Regions from separate parts of the Homo sapiens genome. Here regions 2, 3 and 4 are each linked to region 1. Evidence: promoter capture Hi-C in human tissues and cell types (Jung and others, 2019). All regions are on one chromosome and are shown on one strand. Each heading gives the region's core, a stretch centred on a gene start or on the middle of the fragment in contact. The rest is flanking DNA. Distances are from core to core; before and after follow the strand shown. Region 1 holds the start of GATA6 (GATA binding protein 6). Region 2 overlaps RBBP8-AS1 (RBBP8 antisense RNA 1). Region 3 overlaps RBBP8-AS1 (RBBP8 antisense RNA 1). Region 4 overlaps RBBP8-AS1 (RBBP8 antisense RNA 1).

Region 1 (2,923 bases), core at 244-2,743:
AACCATACTTTACAAGGCACCTCTCCACCCCAGTTCAACTCTGCACAGGCTCCTCTTCCTTCCCTAACTGGGAAAACACGAAAATAGAAACAAAACAAAAAACCAGAGCCTAAACGCTTTCTAGGAGACCGACCTTCAGAAAATCATTTACTTGGATTTACCTGGGCGGGGGGTAGGGGGTGGGGTCGGGGTAAAGTATAAAAATTCATTCTCACAAAAACAACGCCTCTTGTCCTAAAGTCTCCCTCGGCAGCCTTCTGGGGTCACGTCTGTCGGAAGAAATCCTTTCTGTAAGCGAAAGGGAGCGAGACATATATCACGGCTCCTGCAGCGGACGAGCCTGCGGCCGCGCGAGTTGCCGCTGACAGATCGGCGCTGATAACCCCGCGACGTTCATTTCCAGTCCCTTTTGCCCGCTAGGGACCGTATCAGTTTGTACAGAGTTGTGATAACTGTTTGGAGGGAGCGAAGAGGGGGTGTGTATATGAACGTGGGGGTGGGGAAGCAGCATTTAGCGCTGGGTCCAGGGAAGGTGACACCCCCTCTTCGCAGTGACTTATCTGTGACTTACCTGAAACTCTCCAGGGAAATATCAGAAACTCTCCAGGGACATCAAAAGTTGGAGAGCGTCCTCGGACACGACTGATGTGGAAGCCCTTTTCCATTCTGCGTACCCCATAGACTACCTTTCCGTACATGACGACCCGAGTTAAAGTTCCCAAAGGTCAGCTGGGGAATGTTGTCTTGAGGTTCCCGAAACCACCACGACCTGAGCCGTAGCATCCCGAGATAGGGTCGGAGAAAGTTTAAGGTCGGTCTCACACAACTTCAGGGCAAAAAGCGCATTTGCTGTGAAGGGGCTAGGCGGGGGTTGGGGGGCGGGGGGGCGCAGAGCACGTTCCCCCTTCCTTCTGGGGGCGTGCTGACCCAAGGTCTGGAGCGCCCCTCCCGCCGCGGCGGCGGCGCGGGACTGTGCACTGCCAACTCCTCCCGTGCCAAGGCTCCCTCCCCCTCCCTCGTGTGGGTGTGTGTGTGCGACTGCGGGAGCGGGAGGGTGCACCGCCGCTGGATGGGTGCGGGTCGCTAGCCAGGTCAGGCGTTCTGTGGCCTCCGCCCCTCCCCCGGGGTCCCTGGGCTCGGTGCCCCCCGGGTGGACTCGCCCCCACTCCGGGGACAGGGCTTGCGGCTCAGCCCACGCCCGCAGGCAGCGCGGCTCTCATTGTCTGCCTGGGCGGCGCGCTCCCCTCCCCCCTCGCCGTCCCCTCCCCACCCTCTTTTCTCTCCTCCCCTCGATCCCTCCTCCTCCTCTTCACCTCCAGCGCCCAGCTGCTCGCTGAGCGCAGTTCCGACCCACAGCCTGGCACCCTTCGGCGAGCGCTGTTTGTTTAGGGCTCGGTGAGTCCAATCAGGAGCCCAGGCTGCAGTTTTCCGGCAGAGCAGTAAGAGGCGCCTCCTCTCTCCTTTTTATTCACCAGCAGCGCGGCGCAGACCCCGGACTCGCGCTCGCCCGCTGGCGCCCTCGGCTTCTCTCCGCGCCTGGGAGCACCCTCCGCCGCGGCCGTTCTCCATGCGCAGCGCCCGCCCGAGGTTCGGCTGCTTCCTCCTCGCGCGATCTCCCCGCTTTCCTCCCCTCCACCCCTACTCGTCGCGGGCCCCTGGCCTCCGGCTCTCCGGCCCTCTCCAGGCCGCGGTCGGCTCCGACGGTGTTTCCCTCCTTCCCTCCGGGCGGGCTGAGGCGGCTCCCAGGCTCCCGGGACACCGCGGACCAACTTCTAGTCTCTTTTTCTCTCCTCGAAGCGCTTATCTGCGCGCAGCCTTATCTCCGAGTTATCTCGGCGCAAAGGGGCGGGAGCCGGTAGTTAGGCAGGCAGAGAAACTTCTTTCTTGCTATCTAGCCAGGTCTGTGTGTGGGCATTAATTTTAGTGTGGTAATCTCCGATGAGCCGAGGCGATTTGGAAGAGCAGCCTGGAGGAGGCCAGCCCGGCTGCATTTCACCTCCCTCCCCCACTCGCTCCGAGTCTCCCTGTCATTCTTCCTGCTCTCCCATTTGGGGTCGCCTCGGCTCTGGGGCGGTCTCACGCTCCCCCCTCCCCAGCCCGTTGCGTTCCCCCTCCTTTTCTCTGCTCTCCGCTCCACCCCGCTACGTCCGATTCCGGAACGGTCCGGCGTTTCTGCTGCTGGAGATGACCGCGGGGTGGGCCGGGTGGCCCGGCCGGCGTGAGCGCGCACGCTGGTGGCTGCAGGCGCGGGCCGTGTCTAAGGTGTGCGGCGCCGCGGGGACGCCGGTGGGGCTGGCGATTCCCGCCCCACAAGCTCTCCGCATTGCCTCTGCTGGGAAGGACCCAGACTGCTGCCCCCGCCCTGGCGTCCCACTTTCCCTGGGCCGAGTTGCATTTCTCTCTGGGGCTCGCGTTCGGGCTGGTCAGCGCAGTCCGGGAAGCTCTGGGAGAGCCAATATAGGAGAACGCGGCGGTTTCGTTTTCGGGGACAGGTTGCCTTCCTTACGCGAAGGGTTTTCCCGTGGGGAACCCTCACCCCGAGGCATTTCGGGAGAGGGGCATCCGCAGAGAGGCGGGATGCGGCGGTGCCGACACGCACAGCTACTTAAATTCTTTTGTGTGTCATCAGCCCGGGGGAGACACTTTAGGGCGGAAGGAAAGCCTCAGCCAGCTTCTGCAGATCACCCCTGGGATCTGGCGCGCGCACGGAGAAAGGATGCGGCCGAGGGGGTGGGCGGGGAGGACGCGGGGACCGGAGCGGTGCCTTTGAGGGAGGGCTGGTATCCCAGCCCTTCCAGGGCCCTGTGGCGGCTGCGCAGGCTCCCTTCCCCTCCCTTATTGATCTCCACGCCCGGGGCAGAAATAGGATCTTTGAGAAGTCTCAAATGGGATCTTTGAGAAGTCAGATCCCATTTGAACTAGA
Region 2 (3,048 bases), core at 43-2,542, 560 kb after region 1:
AACTGGGAAGGAATGGATCTGTGACTCATTTGTGAATATGCCAGGTGAATAGATTTTGTCCATGCTAGAAGAGGATCAACTGCTTGAGATTGCATATGATGGTAGCCTTAAAAGTATGTTTGAGAAAACTTCAAATCTCCATAGTTCTGGATTAAAGTCAAGGTGAAATATCCTGTGATTGCCACAAAAGCACTGAAAAGCCTACTTCCGTTCCCAGCATCCTATCTTAGTGAAGCAGAATTTTCTGCAGTGACAGCAACCAAAACGAGATTACGGAGCAGACTGGACATAAGCAACACACTTCCATGTCACTGTCCTCCATCACCCCCAGATGGGACCATCCAGTTGCAGGAATACAAGCTCAGAGCTCCCACTGATTCTACATTATGGTGAGTTGCATAATTATGTCATTATATATTACAATAAAAATAAAGTGCATGATAAATGTAATGTGGTTGAATCATCCCAAAGTCATCCTCCCTACTCCACCCCAGTCTGTGGAAAAATTGTCTTCTGTGAAACCGGTCCCTGGTGACAAAAAATTTGGGGACTGCTGATTGAGAGAGATCTTAATTGAGTTAAAAAAGAGATCACAGGGACACAGGAAGGGGAACATCACACTCTGGGGACTGTTGTGGGGTGGGGGGAGGGGGGAGGGATAGCATTGGGAGATATACCTAATGCTAGATGACGAGTTAGTGGGTGCAGCGCACCAGCGTGGCACATGTATACATATGTAACTAACCTGCACAATGTGCACATGTACCCTAAAACTTAAAGTATAATAATAAAAGAAAAAAAAAGTTTTGCATAGATGGACAGCCTCTGAGGTATCTTTCAGCTTTGATAACTGGTGATTCCTTACTGTATAGGCCAACTGGGCCCAAAGTCCACTTGGGATTTCAACACCTTCTTTTTTCATAGTATGACCAGGACTTTCCCAGTTTATGCTGTAAGTCCTATGATCTGGAACTGAGTCCCAGGCAAACAAGGAATCACCATACTTCTTACCACTATGCTGTGTGTCTCCTTGACCCTTGTCCAGACCAGCACAGTGCTCTTAACTGCACCTTCCCACCTACACAAAAGCCTGAGTACACACTACAAAAAGTCTTTGTCCCCTGCACTCTGGATCTTGTGCAAACCCAAAGGAGGCTTTGCCTTCTACTCTCATTCCAACCTGCATACTCGGGTACCTTGGCAAGTACCTAGGTTTGTTTCTCTAATTAGCCCTCTTGAAGCAATGCTTCAGGTGAACCATCTGCTTGGCTTCACCACCAAACATGATCTTCAAGTCTCCCAGCCCAACATTTCTCCTGCCAGGCCTTGGGTCATTGAGCAGAGGTATTATTGGGATACCTTATGCCCCTGCTGCTGCCTAGTCCTGTAGCCACTGCATAGCATGATCCAAGATCAAAGCTATTTTGTGGATTTCTAAATGCCATACTACTATATCAGTTCTGTATCTATTGCCAGAATTCTTTTAAAAACTGGTCATTTGTAGACATAAGCTTTTCAAGGGCTCAAATATCCCATTTTCATAAACCTATTTGTTTTCTTGTCTGCTTAGTGTTGCCTTTGACTATATTGAATATCCTCCTCCTGTGCTATGTTAAAATGCCTTTACTTGTTACTTGTTAACAATAAATTACTCATTAACAAGGAATTCATTCTTATCATTGACAAATATTTCAGCATAAATGGACTTCTTTCTATAGCCAAGAGAGTATGAAGTATGTTAGATTGGAAAGCTCCATATTTATCGTCTGTTGGATTAAAGCTTGTTGATTTATTTTAAACTATTCTAAGGTGGTTGTTTGTGTTTCATACTTATATCTCAGGAGATACTGATGAAACTATATAGAATGAATCAACAATTAGTACATAGCCCAAAACCATGTGCCCAAAATACCTAAGTTATGGACATTCCTAAAACAGACCTTAATATGCTGAGTTTTTCTAATTAATTTATATTTTTCCACATACAAAAAGGATAGGAAAGTCTTCCAGAAAAAAGGACAATGTCCTTGGGTTACTTTGTAGCATCTAACACTGCTAAACTGGTGTAGAGGAGTGAAGAGGTTGAAAGGAAGACTATAAGATGTCCCACTTAAGAAACTGTTAAAAAGTGCTGTGAAAGTCTGATCCCTCCATTCATCCACCTGACAGAAGCACTGGAACAAACTTCTGCCTGTCACAGAAACTTCTATTTGTCTACCCAGTATTTATTTTTTTTCCTTCTTCCTTACTAACAGAATGTCAATTTTCTTCTAGGCATTCATTTATTCTCCCTTGCAGCTAAGGGTAACCAATGAGGTGTAAGTAGAAGTGTTTGAAAGGGCCTTACTCACCCAGGAGGGACAATCCTGGGACCTTCTGCCCTCCTTCCTTCCTCCTTCTTTCTGCCTAGAATATGTCAGGTTGTTACATTTAAAAAATAAAAACACAGGGTGCCTACTTAAATTTAAATTTCAGACAAACAACAAATAATTGGTTTTAGTATAAGTACATTCTATGCAGTTTGGAACATACTAACACTAAAAAATCATTTGTTGTTTACCTAAAATTCAAGTGTAACTGGGTATCCTGTATTTTATCTATTTTATCATGTCCCCAAGAATGTGGACATGGAGACTGAAGCTCCAGCAGCCACCATGGGACATAAAGAGAACTTACAGCTGAAAGCCACACACCAAGGATGACAGAAAGAAAATATGGGCATCCAGTCACAGAAGACCAGAGAGGGACACGCTAACCCCAGGCCATGTTCCTTGGAACTTTTTCTACATGAGATAAATAAAGCTTTACCTTGTTTGAGGCATGATTATTTGGAATTTGTTGCATGTCAAACTCAGTCCTGAGTGGTAAACTATCATTTCCACATTGCTTTTCCTCTCCACTCTCTTCCGTGTTTCTTTTTTCTCTCCCCAATAACCCATGGTGAGAATTTTAGGTGATTTTATTCATTTATAAGAGTGAATGGAAAGAGTAAATCCCACACAATAATTTGTCCCCCTCCTAAATCCTCAGAAACAGCTTAAAATGAGG
Region 3 (3,402 bases), core at 669-3,168, 610 kb after region 1:
ATAGTTAGCTCTTCTTGTTGAATTGAGCCCTTTACCATTATGTATTGCCCTTGTCTTTTTTGATCTTTGTTGGTTTAAAGTCTGTCTTGTCAGAAACTAGGATTACAACCCCTGCTTTTTTCTGCTTTCCATTTTCTTGGTGTTTCCATTTTCTTGGTAAATTTTCTTGCATCCCTTATTTTAAGCTTATGTGTGTCTTTGCACATGAGATGGGTCTCTTGAATATAGCACACCAATAGGTCTTGACTCTTTATACAGCTTGCTGTTCTGTGTCTTTTAATTGGGGCATTTAGCCCATTTACATTTAAGGTTAATATTGTTATGTGTAAATTTGATCCTGTCATCATGACGCTAACTAGTTATTTTGCACACTTGTTGATGTAGTCGCTTCATAGTATCATTGGTCTTTGTACTTCCATGTGTTTTTGTAGTGTTAGACTGGTAATGACTTTTGTGGTGTAGGCTGATAATGATTTTTCCTTTTCATCTTTAGTGCTTCCTTCAGAAGCTCTTGCAAGGCAGGCCTAGTGGTGAAGAATTCCCTCAGCATTTGCTTGTCTGAAAAGGATTTTATTTCTCCTTCGCTTATGAAGCTTAGTTTGGTTGGATATGAAATTCTAGGTTGAAAATTCTTTTAAGAATGTTGAATATTGGCCCCCAATCTCTTCTGGCTTGTAGAGTTTCTGCTGAGAGGTCAACTGTTAGTCTGATGGGCTTCCCTTTGTAGGTGACATGGCCTTTCTCTCTGGCTGCCCTTAATGTTTTTTCCTTCATTTTAACCTTGGAAAATCTGATAATTATGTGTCTTGGGATTTATCTTCTCATGGAGTCTCTTACTGGGGTTCTCTGGATTTCCTGAATTTGAATGTTGTTCTGTCTTGCTAGGTTGGGAAAGTTCTCCTGTATGATATCCTGAAGTATGTTTTCCAACCTGGTTCCATTCTCCCCATCTCTTTCAGGTACCCCAATCAGTCATAAGTTCAGTCTTTTTACATTATCCCATAGTTTTCAGAGGTTTTGTTCACTCCTTTTCATCCTTTTTTCTCTAATCTTGTCTGCCTTCCTTATTTCAGCAAGATAGTCTTCAATCTCTGAAATGCTTTCCTCCACTTGATGCATTCGGCTATTGATACTTGTGGTTGCATTGTGAAGTTCTTTTGTGTTGTGCTTTTCAGCTCCATCAGGTCATTTATGTTCCTCTCTAAACTAGTTATTCTGGTTAACATTTCCTGTAATGTTTTATCATGGCTCTTAGCTTCTTTGCATTGGGTTAGAACATCTGCCTTTAGCTCAGCAAAGTTTGTTATTACTCACCTTCAGAAGCCTACTTCTGTCAATTAATTCATCTCAGCCTCCACTCAGTTCTATGCCCCTGTTGGAGAGGTCTTGCGATCATTTGGAGGAGAAGAGGCACTCTGGTTTCTTGAGTTTTCAGCATTTTTTTTGTTGATTCTTTCTCATCTTCATGAGTTCATCTAGCTTCAATCTTTGAGGCTGCTGACCTTTGGATGGGGTTTTTGGAGGGACTTTTTTGTTGATGCGGTTGTTACTGTGTTTTCTGTTTGTTTGTTTTTCTTTTAACAGTCAGGCCCTTCTTCCGTAAGGCTTCTGCAGTTTGCTGGGGGTCCACTCCAGACCCTATTTGCCTGGGTCCCTCCCTACCTGGAGGTATCACCACTGGAGGCTGCAAAACAGCAAAGATGGCTGCCTGCACCTTCCTCTGGGATCTGTGTCCCGGAAGGGGACTGACCTGATGCCAGCAGAAAAGCTCCTGTATAAGGTGCCTCGCAACCCCTGTGGGTGGGCAGGGGGAGGGGAGGTCTCATCCAGTCAAGACGGACAGGATCAGGAACCCCCTTAACAAAGCACTCTGGCTGTCCCTTGGCAGAGGGGATGCACTGCACTGTGGGGAATCCCATTCATCAGGACTGCCCGGATTCCACAGTCAGCACTGGGAAAGACTAAGTTTGCTGATCTGCAGAGACTGCCCCTCCTCCCTGGGGCTCTGTCCCAGGGAGATCAGAGTTCTGTCTGTAAACCCCTGGTTGGAATTGCTGAAATTCCCACAGGAAGGCCCTGCACAGTGAGGAGCGATGGGTCAGGGTCCAGCCTAGAGAGGCAGTCTGGCCACAATCTGCCATAGCTGCTGTGCTGTGCCATGGGGAATTCCTCCTGAGTCCAAATCACCCAGTATCCCCAGCACTGGCAGGGGGAAAACAGCAGACTGGAGCTGCAGTGATGGCTCCTGCCCCTCCCCGCAGGTGCTCAGTCATCTTAGGCAGCAGGAGAATGCAGTGATGGTGGTCAACCCTCCCCCTGGAAACTCAGTAGTCTTAGGCAGTCTCCAGCCAAGTGGCCACCAAGAATCTTCACAGCTCTATGCTTGGGACCCAAGGCCCTGGTGGCACGGACTCACAAGGGGGATATCCTGACCTGTGGGTTGCACAGATCTGTGGAAAAAGTGTGGTTTCCTGGGGCAGGTAGCACAATCACTCACACCTCCCTTGGCTGGGGGTGGGAGCTCCCCTTCCCCTGCACTCCCAGGAGGGCCATTGCTCCACCCTGCTTTTCCTCACTCTCCATGGGTTGCGCCAACTGCCTAATTCAATGAGAGAACCTGGATACCACAGTTGCCAGTGCAGGATTCGTTGGCCATTTTCATTATCTTGGTGGGAGCCTCTGATGGCAACTGCTTCTAGTCAGCCATCTTGGCCCCTCCCCGCTACCACTTTTCTTATGACAACAAACTTGAAAATCTAAAGGAAACAAATGATGTTCTATCAAAATATAAATTCCCCAAATTAACTAAATGACAAGTAGAACACCTAAACAACCCAACAACTACAGAATTTGAAAATATATATATATTTTTTATATATAATATACATATATTAAAGCTCTACAATTAAAAATGGTACCAGATTCAGGATGTTTGTGGATAAGTTGTCCCTAAATTCAAGGAACAACAATAGAAGGCTTCCCAATTCAATTTACAGTTCTATCATAATATTAATGCCAATACCTGACAAACATATTCCAACAAGAAAACTAGAATACTTACAATTAAAATCTGAAACCAGATATTAACAAATTAAATCTAGCAATGTGTTAAAATAGTTATATTCTATAACTAAGCAAAGTTTATTCCAGAAAGCAACATTTCCCAATTTTAAGAAATCTATTAGTATAATGTATTACATTAAAAATTTTTTAAAGAAAAATATGTAATTAAGTAAGTACATGCCAAAAATATATTTAAGGTATTGGAACAGATATTCCTGATCAATTTTCAGTAGTGATTTTTAAGATGTGAATATTTTATCTCTTCATGCAAATTATAAGCCTTTCTCATACCATATATTATTTCTGTCTGTGAGCTACATCTACCTGCTATACCCTCAT
Region 4 (3,120 bases), core at 380-2,879, 590 kb after region 1:
ATGGTAAGAGCTATTTATGACAAACCCACAGCCAATATCAGACTGAATGAGCAAAAGCTGGAAACATGCCTTTTGAAAACCAGCACAAAGCAAGGATGCCCTCTCTCATCACTCCTATTCAACATAGTATTGGAAGTTCTGGCCAGGGCAATCAGGCAAGAGAAAGAAATAAAGCGTATTCAAATAGGAAGAGAGGAAGTCAAATTGTCTCTGTTTGCAGATGACATGATTGTATATTTAGAAAATCCCATCGTCTCAGCCCAAAATCTCCTTAAGCTGATAAGCAACTTCAGCAAAGTCTCAGGATACATGTGAAAAAAATCACAATCATTCCTGTACACCAAAAATAGACAGAGAGCCAAATCACGAGTGAACTCCCATTCACAATTGCTACAAAGAGAATAAAATACCGTGGAATACGACTTACAAGGGACGTGAAGGACCTCTTCAAGGAGAACAACAAGCCACTGCTCAAGGAATAAGAGAGGACACAAACAAATGGAAAAACATTCCATGCTCATGGTTAAGAAGAATCAATATCAGGAAAATGGCCATACTGCCCAAAATAATTTATGGATTCAATGCTATCTCTAGCAAGCTACCATTGACTTTCTTCACAGATTTAGAAAAACTTCTTTGAATTTCATATGGAACCAAACAAGAGCCCGTATAGCCAAGACAATCCTAAGCAAAAAGAACAAAGCTGGAGGCATCATGCTACCTGACTTCAAACTATACTACAAGGCTACAGTAACCAAAACAGCATGGTACTGGTACCAAAATAGATATATAGGCCAATGGAACAGAACAGAGGCCTCAGAAATAATGCCACACATCTACAACCATTGGATCTTTGACAAAACTGACACAAACAAGCAATGGGGAAAGGATTCCCTATTTAATAAATGGTGTTGGGAAAACTGGCTAGCCATGTGCAGAAAACTGAAACTGGACCCCTTCCTTACATCCTATACAAAATTTAACTCAAATGGATTAAAGACTTAACATAAGACCTAAAACCATAAAAACCCTAGAAGAACACCTAGGCAATACCATTCAGGACATAGGCATGGTCAAAGACTTCATGACTAAGACACCAAAAGCAATGGCAACAAAAGACAAAATTGACAAATGGGATCTAATTAAACTAAAGAGCTTCTGCACAGCAAAAGAAACTATCATCAGAGTGAACAGGCAACCTACAAAATGGGAGAAAATTTTTTCAATCTATCCATCTGACAAAGGGCTAATATCCAGAATCTATAATGAACTTAAACAAATTTACAAGAAAAAAACAACCCCATCAAAAAGTGGGCAAAGGATATGAACAGACGCTTCTCAAAAGAACACATTTATGCAGCCAAGAAACATGAAAAAAAAATTATCATCACTGGTCATTAGAGAAATGCAAATCAAAACCACAATAAGATACGATCTCACACCAGTTAGAATGGCAATCATTAAAAAGTCAGGAAACAATAGATGCTGGAAAGACTGTGGAGAAATAGAAACGCTTTTACACTGTTGGTGGGAATGTAAATTAGTTCAACCATTGTGGAAGACAGTGTGGCGTTTCCTCAAGGATCTAGAACCAGAAATACCATTTCACCCAGCAATCCCATTACTGGGTATATACCCAAAGGATTATGAATCATTATACTATAAAGACACATGCACACTTATGTTTATCGCAACACTATTCACAATAGCAAAGACTTGGAACCAACCCAAATGCCCATCAATGATAGACTGGATAAAGAAAATGTGGCACATAAACACCATGGAATACTATGCAGCCATAAAAAAGGATGAGTTCATGTCCTTGCAGACAACATGGATGAAGCTGGAAACCATCATTCTCAGCAAACACAGGAACAGAAAACCAAACACAACATGTTCTCACTCATAAGTGGGAGTTGAACAATGAGAACACATGGACACAGGGAGGGGAACATCACACACCGGGGCCTGTCAAGGGGTGGGGGCATATGGGAGGGATAGTATTAGGAGAAATACCTAATGTAGATGACATTGGTTGATGGGTGCAGCAAACCACCATGGCACATGTATACCTATGTAACAAACCTGAATGTTCTGCATACGTATCCCAAAACCTAAAGTATAATAAAAAAGAAAAAAATGCCCAAATACCCATCAATGATAGACTGGACAAGGAAAACGTGGCACATATACACCATGGAATACTACATAGCCACAAAAAAAGATGAGTTCATGTCCTTTGCAGGGACATGGATGAAGCTGGAAACCATCATTCTCAGCAAACTAACACAGGAACTGAAAACCAAACACCACATGTTCTCACTCATAAGTGGGAATTGAACAATGTGAACACATGGACACAGGATTGGAACATCACACACCAGGGCCTGTCAGGGGGTTGGGGGCAAGGGGAGGGAGAGCATTAGGACAAATACCTAATGCATGTGGGGCTTAAAACCTAGATGACAGGTTGACAGGTGCAGCAAACCACCATGGCACATGTATACACCTATGTAGCAAACCTTTATGTTCTGCACATGTATCCCAGAACTTAAAGTTAAATAAATAAAAAAGAGCCTGGGGGATCTCCTCAGGATCCAAGAAAGGACACCTCTCTGTCTGAAATGCAGAATGACAGTGATAGAAAAAACTACAGAAATGGTCTTCACTGACAAGCCCAATAGAGAATTCTTATCTTCAACAATTCTGACAGGTAGAATCCAGCTTCATTTTTACTACATCTGGGAATTGGGAGCTCCTTGCCACTTAGTGCAGACCATTTCCATATTTGAATAGTTAAATGTTCTGGAAAGCCTTTTGAAACTTGAGCCAAAGCCAGGTGCTGAGCTATAATCCTAGCTTTCCAGGCGTCAGAGGTTTCCATCTTGGGGGTGCAGAGGAACATATGATAAAATTAGGATGACCACCCATTCTGGTTTGTCATGGACTGTTCTGGTTTTAGCATGAAAGTCCTGTGTCTCAGGAAGCCCTATAATAAATAGGTCACAGGGCTAGAAATCACAGGGTTTCTAGTCACAGGACCTGAGTTACAGTCCCAGCTCTACCATTTAATCTGTTGTGTAGCTTTAGGCAAATCAATTAGTCAATCTAAGCCTCAGT

The links. The method cuts DNA at HindIII sites, captures the fragments that hold promoters and counts their contacts. A contact is called where the count stands out against the background at its distance.
Region 2: a fragment that was not itself captured here is called in contact with the fragment with the promoter of GATA6 in region 1 in 1 of the 25 tissues and cell types used here (aorta).
Region 3: a fragment that was not itself captured here is called in contact with the fragment with the promoter of GATA6 in region 1 in 2 of the 25 tissues and cell types used here (IMR-90 fibroblasts and aorta).
Region 4: a contact is called between a fragment that was not itself captured here and the fragment with the promoter of GATA6 in region 1, in 2 of the 25 tissues and cell types used here (IMR-90 fibroblasts and aorta).

The regions. Positions count from the first base shown.
Region 1 is chr18:22,168,096-22,171,018 of GRCh38, forward strand. GATA6 (GATA binding protein 6) reads left to right here and starts at 1,494. Exons shown (of 7, transcript NM_005257.6): 1 at 1,494-1,587. It overlaps GATA6-AS1 (GATA6 antisense RNA 1 (head to head)), which reads right to left and starts at 873. Exons shown (of 2, transcript NR_102763.1): 1 at 572-873; 2 at 1-288. RefSeq lists an enhancer at 2,864-2,923. The HindIII fragment of the contact is 12,336 bases long and covers 1-2,923 here.
Region 2 is chr18:22,727,286-22,730,333 of GRCh38, forward strand. The region is part of intron 4 of RBBP8-AS1 (RBBP8 antisense RNA 1); the gene reads right to left. Among named protein-coding and RNA genes, the nearest start is that of RBBP8, 200 kb to the right of the region's middle. The HindIII fragment of the contact is 3,429 bases long and covers 1-3,007 here.
Region 3 is chr18:22,781,911-22,785,312 of GRCh38, forward strand. The region is part of intron 3 of RBBP8-AS1 (RBBP8 antisense RNA 1); the gene reads right to left. Among named protein-coding and RNA genes, the nearest start is that of RBBP8, 150 kb to the right of the region's middle. RefSeq lists enhancers at 1,740-2,289, 2,290-2,839. The HindIII fragment of the contact is 7,530 bases long and covers 1-3,402 here.
Region 4 is chr18:22,762,399-22,765,518 of GRCh38, forward strand. The region is part of intron 3 of RBBP8-AS1 (RBBP8 antisense RNA 1); the gene reads right to left. Among named protein-coding and RNA genes, the nearest start is that of RBBP8, 170 kb to the right of the region's middle. The HindIII fragment of the contact is 5,775 bases long and covers 1-3,120 here.